Linked DNA regions of Homo sapiens: all the other regions are linked to region 4. Evidence: promoter capture Hi-C in human tissues and cell types (Jung and others, 2019). All regions are on one chromosome and are shown on one strand. Each heading gives the region's core, a stretch centred on a gene start or on the middle of the fragment in contact. The rest is flanking DNA. Distances are from core to core; before and after follow the strand shown. Region 1 overlaps CUX1 (cut like homeobox 1). Region 2 holds the start of ORAI2 (ORAI calcium release-activated calcium modulator 2). Region 3 overlaps LOC107986717 (a long non-coding RNA gene). Region 4 holds the start of MYL10 (myosin light chain 10).

Region 1 (3,457 bases), core at 599-3,098, 510 kb after region 4:
GTGGTTCTGAAAGAGAGAATGCAGAAACTGGGCAAGCAGTACTCCCACCTGTAGGAAGGTTTGCTGGCGAAGTTTCACACTAAAACATGAAGGAGACTGTTAAAAACAATGGGTATAGATGACAGAACAGCATCCCTTCCTAAACAGCCTTTAAAAGTCTGAAACTAGGGCCAGGTGTGGTAGTTCACACCTGTAAGCCCAGCTAGTTGGGAGGCTGAGGCAGGAGGATCACTTGAGCCCAGGAATTTGAGGCTGCAGTGAGCCATGATAGTACCACTGCACTCCAGCCTGGGCAACAGAGCAAGACCCTGTCTCTACAAAAAATAAATTAGCCATGTGTAATGGTGCACACCTGTAGTCCCAGGTATTCAGGGGATCGAGACAGGAGGATCACTTGAAGACAGGAGTTCAAGACCAGCCTGGCCAACATAGTGAGACCTTGTTTCTGCAAAAAATTTAAAAATTAGCCGGGAGAGGTGATGCACACTTGTAGTCCCAGCTACTTGGGAGGCCGAGGCAGGAGGATCTCTTGAGCCCATGAGTTCAAGGCTGCAGTGAGCCATGGTCAAACCACTGCACTCCAGCCTGGGCAACAGAGCAAGACCCATCTATTAAAAAATAATAATAATAATAAAAACAAATCTGAAAGTAAAGAAGTAACAACCGGTCCCCATTTCCTGCCAGGTTGTTGTCTACCCGTGATTCCTGGCACAGTTGGGGCAAGTCCCCGGAGTGCAGGAGCCATGTTGCCTGCGTCTTTGTAACTGTCCCATGGCCAGGGGGCTCAATGGATGGCAGGCTGCCGGCCCACGATGTCAACAGCAGGAACTTGTGCCTCAGTTTCCTCCATCACCTAAGTGTAGGCCTCTCACCATGACAGTTCCCTTCCTGGGTCAGATGGTACTTGGGGGGTTCCCTTCCAGAATTCATTTTCTTCCCATTCTCTGTTCTTGGCTAACAATCTTTTTCTTTTTTATGAGACAGAGTCTTGCTCTGTCACCCAAGCTGGAGCACAGAGGCGCGATCATAGCTCACTGCAGCCTCCAACTCCTGGGCTCAAACGATCCACCCACATCAGTCTCCAAAGTAGCTGGGACCACAAGTGCATACCACCATACCCAGCTAATTTTTGTATTAATGTTTTGTAGAGACGGAGCTTCACCATGTTGCCCAGGCTGGTCTCGAATTCCTGGGCTCAAGCGATCCTCCCACCTTGGCCTCCCAAAGTGCTGGGATTACAGGTGTGAGTCACTGCGCCTGGCCCAATCATTTTCTGTGTCAAAGAAAAACATATATATGGTATATTATTTTTTAAAGTCACATTCTTCTTATAGAGATGTGCTCTTTGTATACATTTTTTTCCCCTTGGCAAGTGGGTAAACGGGATTCCGGGAAGGTAACTGTCTTGACTAAAGTTAGCAGAGTCTGGCATCAGGTGGACCGCACAGGACGGCCACTTCTTCTTTTGTTTTTTTGTTTTGTTTTGTTTGAGACGGAGTCTCAATCTGTCTCACCAAGACTGGAGTGCCGTGGTGCGATCTCAGCTCACTGTAGCCTCCACCTCCTGGGTTCAAGCCATCCTCCTGTCTCAGCCTCCCGAGTAGCTGGAATTACAGGCATGCACCACCCCACCCGGCCAATTTTGTATTTTTAGTAGAGACGAGCCTTTACCATGTTGGCCAGGCTGGTCTCGAACTCCTGACCTCAGGCAATCCACCCACCTCAGCCTCCCAAAGTGCTGGGATTACAGGCGTGAGCCACTGCGCCCAGCCAGGACGGCCACTTCTAATCCATATTCTTTTCCACAGCTGCAGCCACAGCCATGCAGCGTCCTTTAGATTCTCCTTCTTCTTGAGTATTTTTATGTCTTGCTTATCACCTTGTTTCATTGCAAATGGAATAGTAGCAGTCAGCATCAGTGCACGCTTTACAATTAATGAGTGACGATGGAGGGATACCTGACTACTGTGATGCTCTTCACTTTTTTTGTTGTCTTATTGGGTTTTTTGTTTATGTTTCATATGTTAAATTTCCGACGTACGCGTGACCTGGTGTCAGCATCTCCCGTTCATGGCCCATCCCGTCTCACCTGTCCCCACTCCTGTTTTGACTTGAAGCTACTCCCAGAATCCTTTCATTTCCTTTCTAAACATTTTAACACACATATCCTCACAATAAGGACTTTCTTTTTAATATAGTCACAGCGCAATTAGCACATTCAAAAATAATTTTTCACCTGCAGTCCCAGCAACTCAGGAGGCTGAGGTGGGAGGATTGCTTGAGCCCGGGAGGTTGAGGCTGCAGTGAGCTATGATCACACCACTACGCTCCAGCCTGGGTGACAAAGCAAGACCCTGTCTCAAAAAAAAAAAAAAACAGTAAAAATAATAATCATAATAATTTTTTAATATGATCAGGTAAATCTAGCCAGTTTTGAAATTTCTAGTTGCCCCCAAACTTCATAATGGTTTTATTTTCTAAAATTATTTTAATTTAGGCTGGGCGCAATGGCTCACGTCTGTAATCCCAGCACTTTGGGAGGCCGAGGTGGGTGGATAACTTGAGGTCAGGAGCTTGAAAACAGCCTGGCTAACATGGCAAAACCTCGTCTCTACTAAAAACACAAAAATTAGCTGGGTGTGGTGGCACACACCTGTAGTCCCAGCTACTCAGGAGGCTGAGGCAGTGGAATCACCTGAACGGAGAGGCGGAGGTTGCAGTGAGCCGAGATCGCACCACTGCACTCCAACCTGGGCGACAGAGCAAGACTCCGTCTTAAAAAAAAAAAAAAAAAAAAAAATTTGAATCTCGATTCAAGTAAGATCCACACGTTGCAGTTGGCTGGTGTATCTTTAAGTCTTGGTCATTGTATAGATTCCCTCTTCGTCACTTTTTCTTTTCCTTGCAATGTATTTGTGCTAGAAATGGGGTCATTTGTCCAGAAAAGATTCTCCACCCCACTGCTGAGATTTTACTGATTGCCTCCCCAGAAATAGTTTATCATGCTCCTCTGTCCTCATGCTTTCCTGAAAATTTGTGGTTGAATCTAGAGGCTTGATCAGATTCAGGCTAGAAGTTTTTGGCCAAAAGCCCCTTTGTGGGTGATTGTGATGATCTCGCGATGGTGTCAGGTACTGGAAGTGAGCGCTCACCAGAAGAGAAAGGTCCTGACTTTGATACACAATCATAATGAATCCAGGCATGGAGCTTGGTGGTTTACAAAATCTTTTCCTTTCTTTTTGTGTTCTTGTTTTATCCTCATGCTAATTTCTTTGAATTTCATGGCTCCTCCTGTATAGGTGACTGTCCAGCTCAGAAGTCTGTCCAAGGTCAAACAACTAAAAGACAATGGGAGGGCCGGGCGCGGTGGCTCACGCCTGTAATCCCAACACTTTGGGAGGCCGAGGTGGGTGGATCATCTGAGGTCAGGAGTTCAAGACCAGCCTGACCAACATGG
Region 2 (3,156 bases), core at 212-2,711, 800 kb after region 4:
GTTGGGACCCCAGGGGTCTCGCTGGGTCTGTGAGTGGCAGTGCACTCTGGGTGGCAACCCCCAATTAGCTCAGTGCAAGCTCTTCATGGTGCCATCCAACACCCTGGGCAGGGGCCAAGCAAGGTGGCCCATGCCTCTATGCCCAGCACTTTGGGAGGCTGAGGTGGGAGGATCACTTGAGCCCAGGAGTTCGAGACCAGCAGAGGCAACATAGCAAGACCCATCTCAATTTTTTTAAAAAATTTAAAAATTAGCTGGACATTGTGGCACATGCCTGTAATCCCAGTGCTTTGAGAGGCTAAGAGAGGATTGCTTGAGGCCAGGAGTTTAAGACCAGTCTGGGCAATACAGGAAGACTCTATCTCTAAAAAAAGAATTTTTTTTTTTTTTTTTGGCTGGGCACAGTGGCTCACATGTATCATCCCAGCACTTTGGGAGGCCGAGGCAGGCAGGATCACCTGAGGTCAGGAGTTCAAGACCAGTCCGGCCAACATGGTGAAACCCCATCTCTACTAAACATACAAAAAAGTAGCCAGGCTAGTGGCGTGCACCTGTAGCTCGGAGGCTGAGACAGGAGAATCGTTTCAACCCCGGGGTCGGGGGTTGCAGTGAGCCAAGATGGCACCACTGCACTCCAGCCTGGGTGACAGGGCAAAACTCCCTCTCAAAAAACAAACAAAAACAAATTTTTTAAAAACTACCACGGTGTGGTGGCTCCTGCCTACATGTAGCCTCAGCACTTTGGGTGACTGAGGGCAGAGGATCACTCGAGCTCAGGAATTCGAGGCTGCATTGAACCGTGATCGCACCACTGCAGTCCAGCCTGGGCGACAGAGCCAGACCCTGTCTCAAAAAAATAAAAAAAAAAATCCTGTGAAAACTCGGGCGTGGCCAGACGGATTCTCCCCTCCCCACCTTCCTTTCCCCTCCACTGCCCACCTGCACCCGCCCGCCCTGTCCCCACTCCCCGCCCCTCTACGCAGCCAGCGTCCAATGCTGGGCACCCCCCGAGGCTCACCCTGCCAAGCCTGGGGCTCCCCTTTTGCGCCCGGACCCAGGGGCAGGGAAAGCCCAGCTCGTGGTCTGTGGGTAGCCGGACCCCCGATGGGGCGGTGGGGGGCCTCGCCTTGACTCCCAGAGCTGGGGCCGGGGACAGGAGCTGGGGCAGGAGGGATGCGCGCGGGTCGGGGTCTTCCCACCTCCCCTGCTCCTCTCCCTCGCGCGATCCCGGGGTGGTTCCAGGTGAGGCGGGGACCCCCACCCCCCCACTCTCCGAGGAGGCGCCGCCAGCCCCGCCCCTCCCGGCCCGGCGGGTGACGTGGCCGCGGCTCTCCCGCGGGTGGGTCACGTGTTGGCGGCGCCTGGTTGCCTTGGCAGCGGCTGCGGCGGCCGCGGGGGCGGGGTGGAGGCGGGGCCGGGGGACCCCGCGCGACCGGCGGAAGGAGGGAGGGGGCCGCGCTCGGCGCCCCGGCCGGGCCACTGGGCCACAGGCCACGCGGCCACGCAGTCCGAGCGGGAGCCGAGCCGGGCGGGGCGAGGGCAGCTCCGGTGAGTGTGGCGGCGCGGGGGCCTGGCGCGGGGAGCGGGGTCCCTGCGGCTGGGGGGGCCGGAATTGGACCGGGGACGCTCGGCGGGGAAGGGGACGACTGTAGGCTGCCCGGGCGCGGTCACTACCCATCCGGGGTTGGTGACCTCCACCCCGCGGGATCCCTGGCGGGGTGCGGCGCCCAGAGGATCAGGGTCGGCGGCGCAGCCGGTTCCGGACACCGGGGCGTCCCTGGGGGAGGGACAGGGATGCAGCCTAGCGCCCCTGGGAGGCCCCCTCCCAGTGCGCCTGCTGGAGAGAGACACTCGCCATTGCCGGTGCCCCAGATGCTTAGAGGAAGTCAAACTCCAAGACCGCCCTCTGGAAATGTGTCCAGTAGGCCAGCCAGGAAGAAAAGCTCATCTCTAGAGAGGGGATCGCGTTATTCTACAAGACCTGTTTTCTCGGACTGCTCATTAAAGCAAAAAAAAAAAAAAAAAAAAAAAAGCAACCCCACAAGGTTCAGTCCCGGAGCATCCTCTAGGGTCTGTGCCACCTGACAGAAGTACAGGGCTCCATCCTGCCCCACCCCACCCCCTGCCTGGGATCCAGTGTGAGGCCCAGACTCTGTCCCTCCCCCTGGGCCACCGGGCCTGGCACACACAGTTGGCATTGGGAACATAAAGGATGGATTTGAACCCCCTCCTGGGCTGCTCCTTCGAGACCTGGAGACCTGTCTCAAGACCCAGCTCCAGGCAGACAGACATCGTTTCCTCCACAATCCCACCCACTCTGGGGACATCTGCAGGGCCTCACCGATGGGGCATGGGAGGCCTGGCGGCTCCCAGGAAGCCACCCTCAGCCCTCACTGCCCTGAGCTCTTCACCTCCACTCTCAGACCTGAGCCCAGCCCACCCTTACTGATGGGGCATCCCTCTTGTTCACCCTTCCTTCCTTTGGAGGCCACCAGGCTCTCCCTTGCGTCCCACTCCTGCCAGTCGGCCAGCCATTTCCCTGGGTTGAACTGTGGTCCCAAACCAGAATGATCTAGCAGTGCCCAGACCGTTCCACTCACCAATTTCTTCCATTCTCCTGTGGCTGGACGCCCAGTCATGCTGCCCAGACCCTCTGGCTCATTCCACAGCCCCAGGCTCCAAGTGTCTTCCACCCACATCTCCCTGCCCCCTCCACCCCCCAGGTGGCAGCCAGTCTTCCCTCCATATCTCCTGGACAAGGAGAGCCACCCCACATGTACACCTGGAGTGGCCTTCCCGTCTCTCGGAATCCTTCCATGCAGGCAGCATCTTGTCTTTGAGGAAAGGTCCCTCTTTTTTAAAATTCTTTTTAGAGGCCAGGCGCAGTGGTTCATGCCTATAATCTCAGCACTTTGGGAGGCCAAGGTGGGCGGATCACTTGAGCTCAGGAGTTCTAGACCAGCCTGGCCAACATAGCAAAACCCTGTCTCTACCAAAAATACCAAAAATTAGCCAGGTATGGTGGCACACACATGTAGTCCCAGCTACTCGGGTGGTTGAGGCGGGAGGATCGCTTGAGCCTGGGAGGTAGAATTTGCAGGGAGCTGAGATTGTGCCACTGCACTCCAGCCTTGGTAACACAGCAGGACCCCATGT
Region 3 (3,149 bases), core at 393-2,892, 700 kb after region 4:
CGCCAGGCCAGGCCCATGGGGTAGCTGAGCCAAGCTTTGGGACCACAAGTGCCCTGGCTGACCTGTGACACTGGGTGTCGCAGACATGGGGGACTGCAGGCGCAGGAGCAGCGAGGTGGGATATGAGACCTGCAAGGTAGAGAGAGCCTTGAATGCCAGGCCAGGGAGTTTGGAAGGTGCTGAGAGCCAGTGCCAATTAAAATGGGAGCTGAGATCACCCTGTGGCCAGAGGGTTGGGGCAAGGATGGATTGAAGGCGGCAAAATGAGGCGGGGGGCCAGGGAGGCTGTGGTGGGTCTGGGTGAGGGGCAAGGGGCCAGGGCAGGGCAGCAGAGCAGGAGGACAGTGACGGAAGAAAGATCACAACCGGGTGTGGTGGCTCACGCCTGTAATCCCAACACTTTGGGAGGCCAAGGCGGGTGGATCACTTGAAGTCAGGAGTTCAAGACCAGTCTGGCCAACATGGCGAAACCCCGTCTCTATTGAAAATACAAAAATTAGCCGAGTGTGGTGGCACGTGCCTGTAATCCCAGCTACCCGGAAGGCTGAGGCAAGAGAATGGCTTGAACCCAGGAGGTGGAGGTTGCAGTGAGCCGAGATCATGCCACTGCACTCTAGCCTGGGACACAAAGAGAGACTTGTCTCTAAATAAATACATAAATAAATAAATAGAACTGGCGTACAAAACAAAATCAAATACAGTACAATAAAAATCAGTTCCTTCTGGTGGGCGTTTCTGTTATATTTTTCTTTTTTTTTTTTTAGGGGGCATGGTGTGACCGTGCTTTCATGGTCTGTCTTCCTACTGAAAATCAACATCAATCGAGCTTCTGCCTTCCTGCTCCGGGGAAGGGTTTTTTGTCCTCCCTGAGATCACCTTAGACCCTATTGGGCACTTCTAACTTAGAAAAGTTCTAGCCCATTTGGGGTAGAAGAAATAAACTTCCTGCGATGGCGAGGGGCTCTTACATCCCTAGTATTAAGAGACAGCAAAGCAGCCAGGCGCGGTGACTCATGCCTGTAATCTCAACACTTTGGGAGGCCGAGGCAGGCAGATCACTTGAGGTCAGGAGTTCGAGACCAGCCTGGCCAATATGGTAAAACGCCATCTCCACTAAAAATACAAAAATTAGCCCAGCGTGGTGGCGGCACCTGTAATTCCACCTACTCAGGAGGCTGAGGCAGGAGAATCACTTGAACTGGGGAGGTGGAGGTTGCAGTGAGCCAAGATTGCTCCACTGCACTCCAGCCTGGGCAACAGAGTGAGACCCTGTCTCAAAAAGAAAAAAAAAAAGCAAAGCGATACACTAATGTGAATGTTGAGTAATGAATCTCATTCATTGTCCCCAAATCCTATATTTATTTCTTATTTATTTTAAAGAGCATCTTGATCTGTTGCCCAGGCTGGAGTGCAGTGGGGCAATCACAGGTCACTGCAGCCTCAATCTCCTGGGCTCAAATGATCCTCCCACCTCAGCCTCCCAAGTAGCTGGGACTACAGGTGGGTGTCACCACACCCTGCTAATTTTTAATTTTATTGTAGAGACCAGGAGTCTCACTATGTTTCTCAGGCTGGCCTTGAACTCCTATCCTCAAGTGATCCTCCTGCCTCGGTCCAAAAGCCTTTTTTTTTTTTTTTTTTTCTGAGACAGAGTCTTGCTCTGTCACTCAGGCTGGAGTGTAGTGGTGGGATCTTGGCTCACTGCAACCTCTGCCTCCCGGGTTCAAGCAATTCTCATGCCTCAGCCTCCCGAGTAGCTGGGACTACAGGTGCCCACTACCACGCCCAGCTAACTTTTGTATTTTTAGTAGAGACTGGGTTTCGCCATGTTGGCCAGACTGGTCTTGAACTCCTGACCTCAGGTGATCCACCCACCTCGGCCTCCCAAAAAGCTGCAGTTACAGGCATGAGCCACCGCACCCGGCCTCAAAATCCTTTAATAAGAAAAAAACATGTATTTGGCCAAAACATGCATTTGGCTAGGTAGAAAGTTTTCTGCAGTGCCCACCCTTCCCCCTAAAAGGCCCTAAGCCAGGGATTTCTAATCTCTTTTGTGCCTCAGGCCCCTGACAGTCTGGGGAAGACTATTATAGCCTGCTTAGCATAATGTTTAAAGTGCACAGAATTAAATACATAGACTTGCAAGGAAAACCAATTACCCTGAAATTCAGTCAAAATACTAAATACAATTAAAAAGTAATCAAAATATTTTTTAAACTGGTGATGTGGTAATATACATGCTTCTTTATTAACACTTTAAATAGCAAGCTTTAATAGCAGCCCTCATAACTACTGTAATTTCAGTCAATGATGAGCATGAATGATACTTTGGGGTTCTGTAACAAACTAGACGCGCTGTGAAAAGATCCCTTATTTGAATAAGCTCAATGGCTCACATCTGTAAGCCAGCACTTCGGAAGACTGAGGTAGGAGGATCGCTTGAGGCCAGGAGTTCAAGAACAGCCTGGGCAACAGAACGAGACACACCCTACTCTGCAAAAAATACAGAAAACAGCCGGGCACGGTGGCTCACACCTATAATCCCAGCACTTTGGGAGGCTGAGGCGGGAGGATTGTTTGAGCCCAGGAGGTCGAGACCAGCCTGGGCAACATGGCACAACCTTGTCTTCTCTGCAAAAAAATACCAAAAAAATTAGCCAGGCACGATGGCATGCACCTGTAGTCCCAGCCACCTGGGAGTCTGAGGTGGGAGTATCACCGGAGCCTGGGAGGTCAGTTGCACCACTCTGTCTCAAAAAAAAAAAAAATGCTCTCTCATTCAAGGTTACCCTTCTATTACTCCAAGGATTCACCCCATAATCTTATCTTTCTTGATATGTTACATTCACTGAAATGTTCACATCAAATCAAGTTTGTAGACACTTGTCCTTACCACCTTACAAAAAGTGAGATGGTATCAACAGAGGTGAGACACGGCTTTACCTGCATGTCACTTTTGGCAGCTTTCACAGCATTGAAAAGATCATTGGCTGGTGGCTCTGACTGTTTCCGGCTATGACGATGTACCACTCGGGACCCTTTCTTTCGTTGTTTGCCACCTAATATGTATAAAAAGATCAGAAATATGAAAAAAAGGTAACAGTGACATTAACACTTGGTCTCATCATTATCACACAAGTAGGCTTACG
Region 4 (3,318 bases), core at 632-3,131:
CCCCAGGGAGGAGGTGGAGGTGAGAGGAAGGTAGCCGTGGCAGAGCAGAACAACCCCAGCCTACCATGGTCTGGAGAGCTCCCTGAAGCTGCAGTTGGCCTGGGGATAGCTCAGAGATGGCCCTTAAATAGTGGTCCTCCCAGGGCCCCTGGCATGCACCGGGCCCAGTGTGGAAGGTGATCCATGACAGGACGGAGACCTCCCTGCCAGGCACCTGCCTTGGGCCATTCAGAGTGGATAGGGTTGGGGGGAATCCGTGGGCAAATACCACGGACGCAGGGACTGCCTAAGCCTCCAGGATCTCCGAGAGCCCTGGGCCAACTGTTTTCTCTAGAGCCAAGGGACCAAGACCCAGGAAGGGGCATTTGGCCAAGGACACAGAGTAAGTTGAGGCTGCCTACCCCAATGGGAAGACTTGGCCTTGAGCCGTCAGGGAGTGTTGCCCAGGGTGGGGCCACCCATGCTGGCTGGGACCCACTCAGACTGCAGTGTGGCCGGACCTCTGGAGCTGTGGGACTCTGGGTGGGACATCACCCTCTAGGAGGCTCAGCCATCTCATAGGAATAGGGGGGAGTGTATGAAACCCCCGGTCTGCTTATGGAGAGAGTTTCTGCACCAACCTGGCCCTCGGGGGCCCCTTCTACCAATATGCCTATTATCAGGGTGTCCATTAAGCACCCCCAGGCCAGGGGACCCCCTCAGGGCACTGAAATGCTCAATGAACAGAGAAAGCAACAGGACAAATAAAAGAAAAATGGGGTGGGCGCAGTGGCTCACGCCTGTAATCCCAGAGCTTTCGGAGGCCAAGAGGGAAGGATCGCTTCAGGCCAGGAGTTCAAGACCAGCCTGGGCAACATAGTGAGACCCCTATCTCTACAAAATATCAAAAAAATTAGCCGAGCATGGTGGTGTGCTCTTGTAGTCCCACCTACTCAGGAGGCTGAGGCAGGAGGATTGCTTGAGTCCAGGAGTTTGAGGCTGCAGTGATCTATGATTGTGCCACTGCACTCCAGCCTGGGCGACAGAGTGAGATATTGTCTCTTAAAAAAAAGAAAACAGAAAACTGGAGGTGACTCTGATGAGGAAGAACTGAAAAATGAGACCTCCATTCCACCCTGGCCTCACACACACACATCCATCCCCACCAGGCCTGGCCCAGCCCAAGAATTCTCTAGTAGATCTGCCAAACAGAGCCCACACCTGCCCTGGAAAGCCCCTCCTGTGTCTAGTGCAGCCCCAGCAGCCCCAGCTCGGCCTCAGAGGCTGCCACTGTCCATCTGGGGCCCGCCATATCTGAACAGCTGCCAGGGCCGGCAGTGCTGGGTTCAGGCAGTGAGCCCACGGGTCCCCAGGGGCTGGAGAGCTTAACTGTCCCTGGAGCTGGCCTCAGGCCTTCAGCCCCGGGTACAGCTGATCCCCTGCCTTTGGGGAAGGGAATATCATAATAATAATAAGAAGAGCAGCTAATATACAACACAGAAGGTCAGGCCATGTCTTAAAACACGTGTCCTCACATTCAATCCATATCCCATTTTCCAGATGAGGAAACTGAGGCACGCATGGGTTAAGTCACTCACCCAAGGCAGATAAGAAGTGGGGCCAGAGGCCAGGCACAGTGGCTCATACCTGTAATCCCAGCACTTTGGGAGGCCGAGGAGGGAGGATCACTTGAGGCCAGGAGTTTGAGACCAGCCTAAGCAACATGGTGAAACTCTGTTTCTACAAAAAAATTTTTTTTAATTAAAAAATTAGTCAGGCATAGTGGTGAAGTGAAAAAGTTCCCTTATCCCGTTCATAGGGCATGCGATGGGGGTGTGGCTCGCTTCTTCCATGCCCAGCTGCTCAAACCTCTAGGCGGACCATGCAGACAGGCAGGCTATGGGGCTCCGACCCCACGGCAGTGTCTAGGGGTGGATGCTTACAGCTCCTGAAGCCCCAGTGGGCGTGTGTTACAGGATGCTCTTTTACTTTTGCCATCTGTAGGTGGCTTGTGTTCATCAGCTCAGTTAGACCCTCTGCCTTATTGCAAGGACAAAGGGCTTTTTGTATCCTGGGGTTCTTGCCTTGGTGTACTGTGAAAATTGAATCACATGTGGGCTTGGAGAATGAGTGCGAGGTTTTATTGAGTGGTGGAAGTAGCTCTCAGCAGATGATGGGGAGCCAGAAGGGGGATGGAGTGGGAAGGTGATTTTTCCCCTGAAGTCAAGGTGCTCAGCAGCCAGACTCTCCTCTGACCATCCCCAGCCAAATTCCCCTGGGCATTTGTGTTATTCAGCCAGTCGATGGCCTGCCAGCATCTGCCAGTGCTGTCGGTGTGCTCTTCCGATCCTCTGCTCCTCTTGATGTCCAGCCACCTGTGTGTGTACCCACTGGGGTCTCAGGGTTTTCATAGGCACAGGATGGGCGGGGGGGCGGGGGGCGTGGTGGGCCAGGGTGGTCTTGGAAAATGTGACATTTGGGCATATAAACAGGAGTGCCTGTCCTCACCTAGGTCCGTGGGCACAGGCCCAAGGGTGGAGCCCTTGCCAGGGACCCTGCCTTTCTCCTCTCAGCACTTCCCTGTCCCCCCTCCTGTATCAGTGGCACATGCCTGCAGGCCCAGCTACTTAGGAGGCTGAGGTGGGAGGATCACATGAGCCCAGGAGGTTGAGGCTTCAATGAGCTGTGATTGCACCACTGCACTCCAGCCTGGACAACAGATCAAGGTCTCATTTCTAAAACAAAAAAAAAAAAAAAAAAAAAGAGAGAGAGAGAGGGAGGGCCAGGACAAGAGCCCCTCTTTCTAGTGTTTCCAGAAGGAAGCTTCCAAAAGGTTCTGCTCATCCAAACTCTCCCCTCCTCCTGCTCCCTCCCAGTCATCCCTGACTACAGCTATTTCTGATGTCCCTAAACTCCTGTGACTGAGTGCTCCTCCCAGAGCTGGGGCCAGGTCCAGCCATGATGCTGTGCAGCCCGCTTTCTGCAGCAGGAAACCGTGTGCCTCAGTTTCCCCGACAGGGCTGCTCTCCTGGTGTCCTGGCGTTCCTCTCCGGGGAGAAAAACCACACGTTCCACAGGTGTTCAACAAGCCAGGCGGAAAGGAGAACCCAGCTCTGGGGACGGGAGCCTGGATTCCAGTCCCAGCCGCCTGGACCTGCTACAGAAGGGGGCCTGTGTGACCGCGACAGTGGCTAGGGTGCAGGCTTTCCATGCCCGGTCTGTGAGCCTGGCCCTGGGGCCTCCTGGCTCTGGGCTTACAGAGTGGGTAGCAGACCTATAACTCCTGCTTCCTGCCTCTGGCTTCCTGCTGCCCTGAGGCCTCTGCAAGCAAGGGCTCTT

Evidence for each region. Contacts are between HindIII fragments. The study calls those that stand out against the background at their distance.
Region 1: a contact is called between a fragment that was not itself captured here and the fragment with the promoter of MYL10 in region 4, in 3 of the 25 tissues and cell types used here (IMR-90 fibroblasts, lymphoblastoid cells and spleen).
Region 2: a contact is called between the fragment with the promoter of ORAI2 here and the fragment with the promoter of MYL10 in region 4, in 2 of the 25 tissues and cell types used here (bladder and dorsolateral prefrontal cortex).
Region 3: a fragment that was not itself captured here is called in contact with the fragment with the promoter of MYL10 in region 4 in 2 of the 25 tissues and cell types used here (lymphoblastoid cells and spleen).

What each region holds. Positions count from the first base shown.
Region 1 is chr7:102,142,310-102,145,766 of GRCh38, forward strand. All of the region lies in intron 8 of CUX1 (cut like homeobox 1), which reads left to right. Among named protein-coding and RNA genes, the nearest start is that of SH2B2, 140 kb to the right of the region's middle. The HindIII fragment of the contact is 8,914 bases long and covers 1-3,457 here.
Region 2 is chr7:102,432,114-102,435,269 of GRCh38, forward strand. It overlaps ORAI2 (ORAI calcium release-activated calcium modulator 2), which reads left to right and starts at 1,462. Exons shown (of 4, transcript NM_001126340.3): 1 at 1,462-1,548. RefSeq lists silencers at 922-1,061, 1,092-1,871. The HindIII fragment of the contact is 14,608 bases long and covers 1-3,156 here.
Region 3 is chr7:102,324,310-102,327,458 of GRCh38, forward strand. It overlaps LOC107986717 (a long non-coding RNA gene), which reads right to left. Exons shown (of 3, transcript XR_001744970.3): 3 at 2,736-3,059. Among named protein-coding and RNA genes, the nearest start is that of SPDYE6, 31 kb to the right of the region's middle. The HindIII fragment of the contact is 5,177 bases long and covers 1-3,149 here.
Region 4 is chr7:101,627,415-101,630,732 of GRCh38, forward strand. It overlaps MYL10 (myosin light chain 10), which reads right to left and starts at 1,882. Exons shown (of 8, transcript NM_138403.5): 1 at 1,627-1,882. The coding sequence starts at 1,704. The HindIII fragment of the contact is 21,528 bases long and covers 1-3,257 here.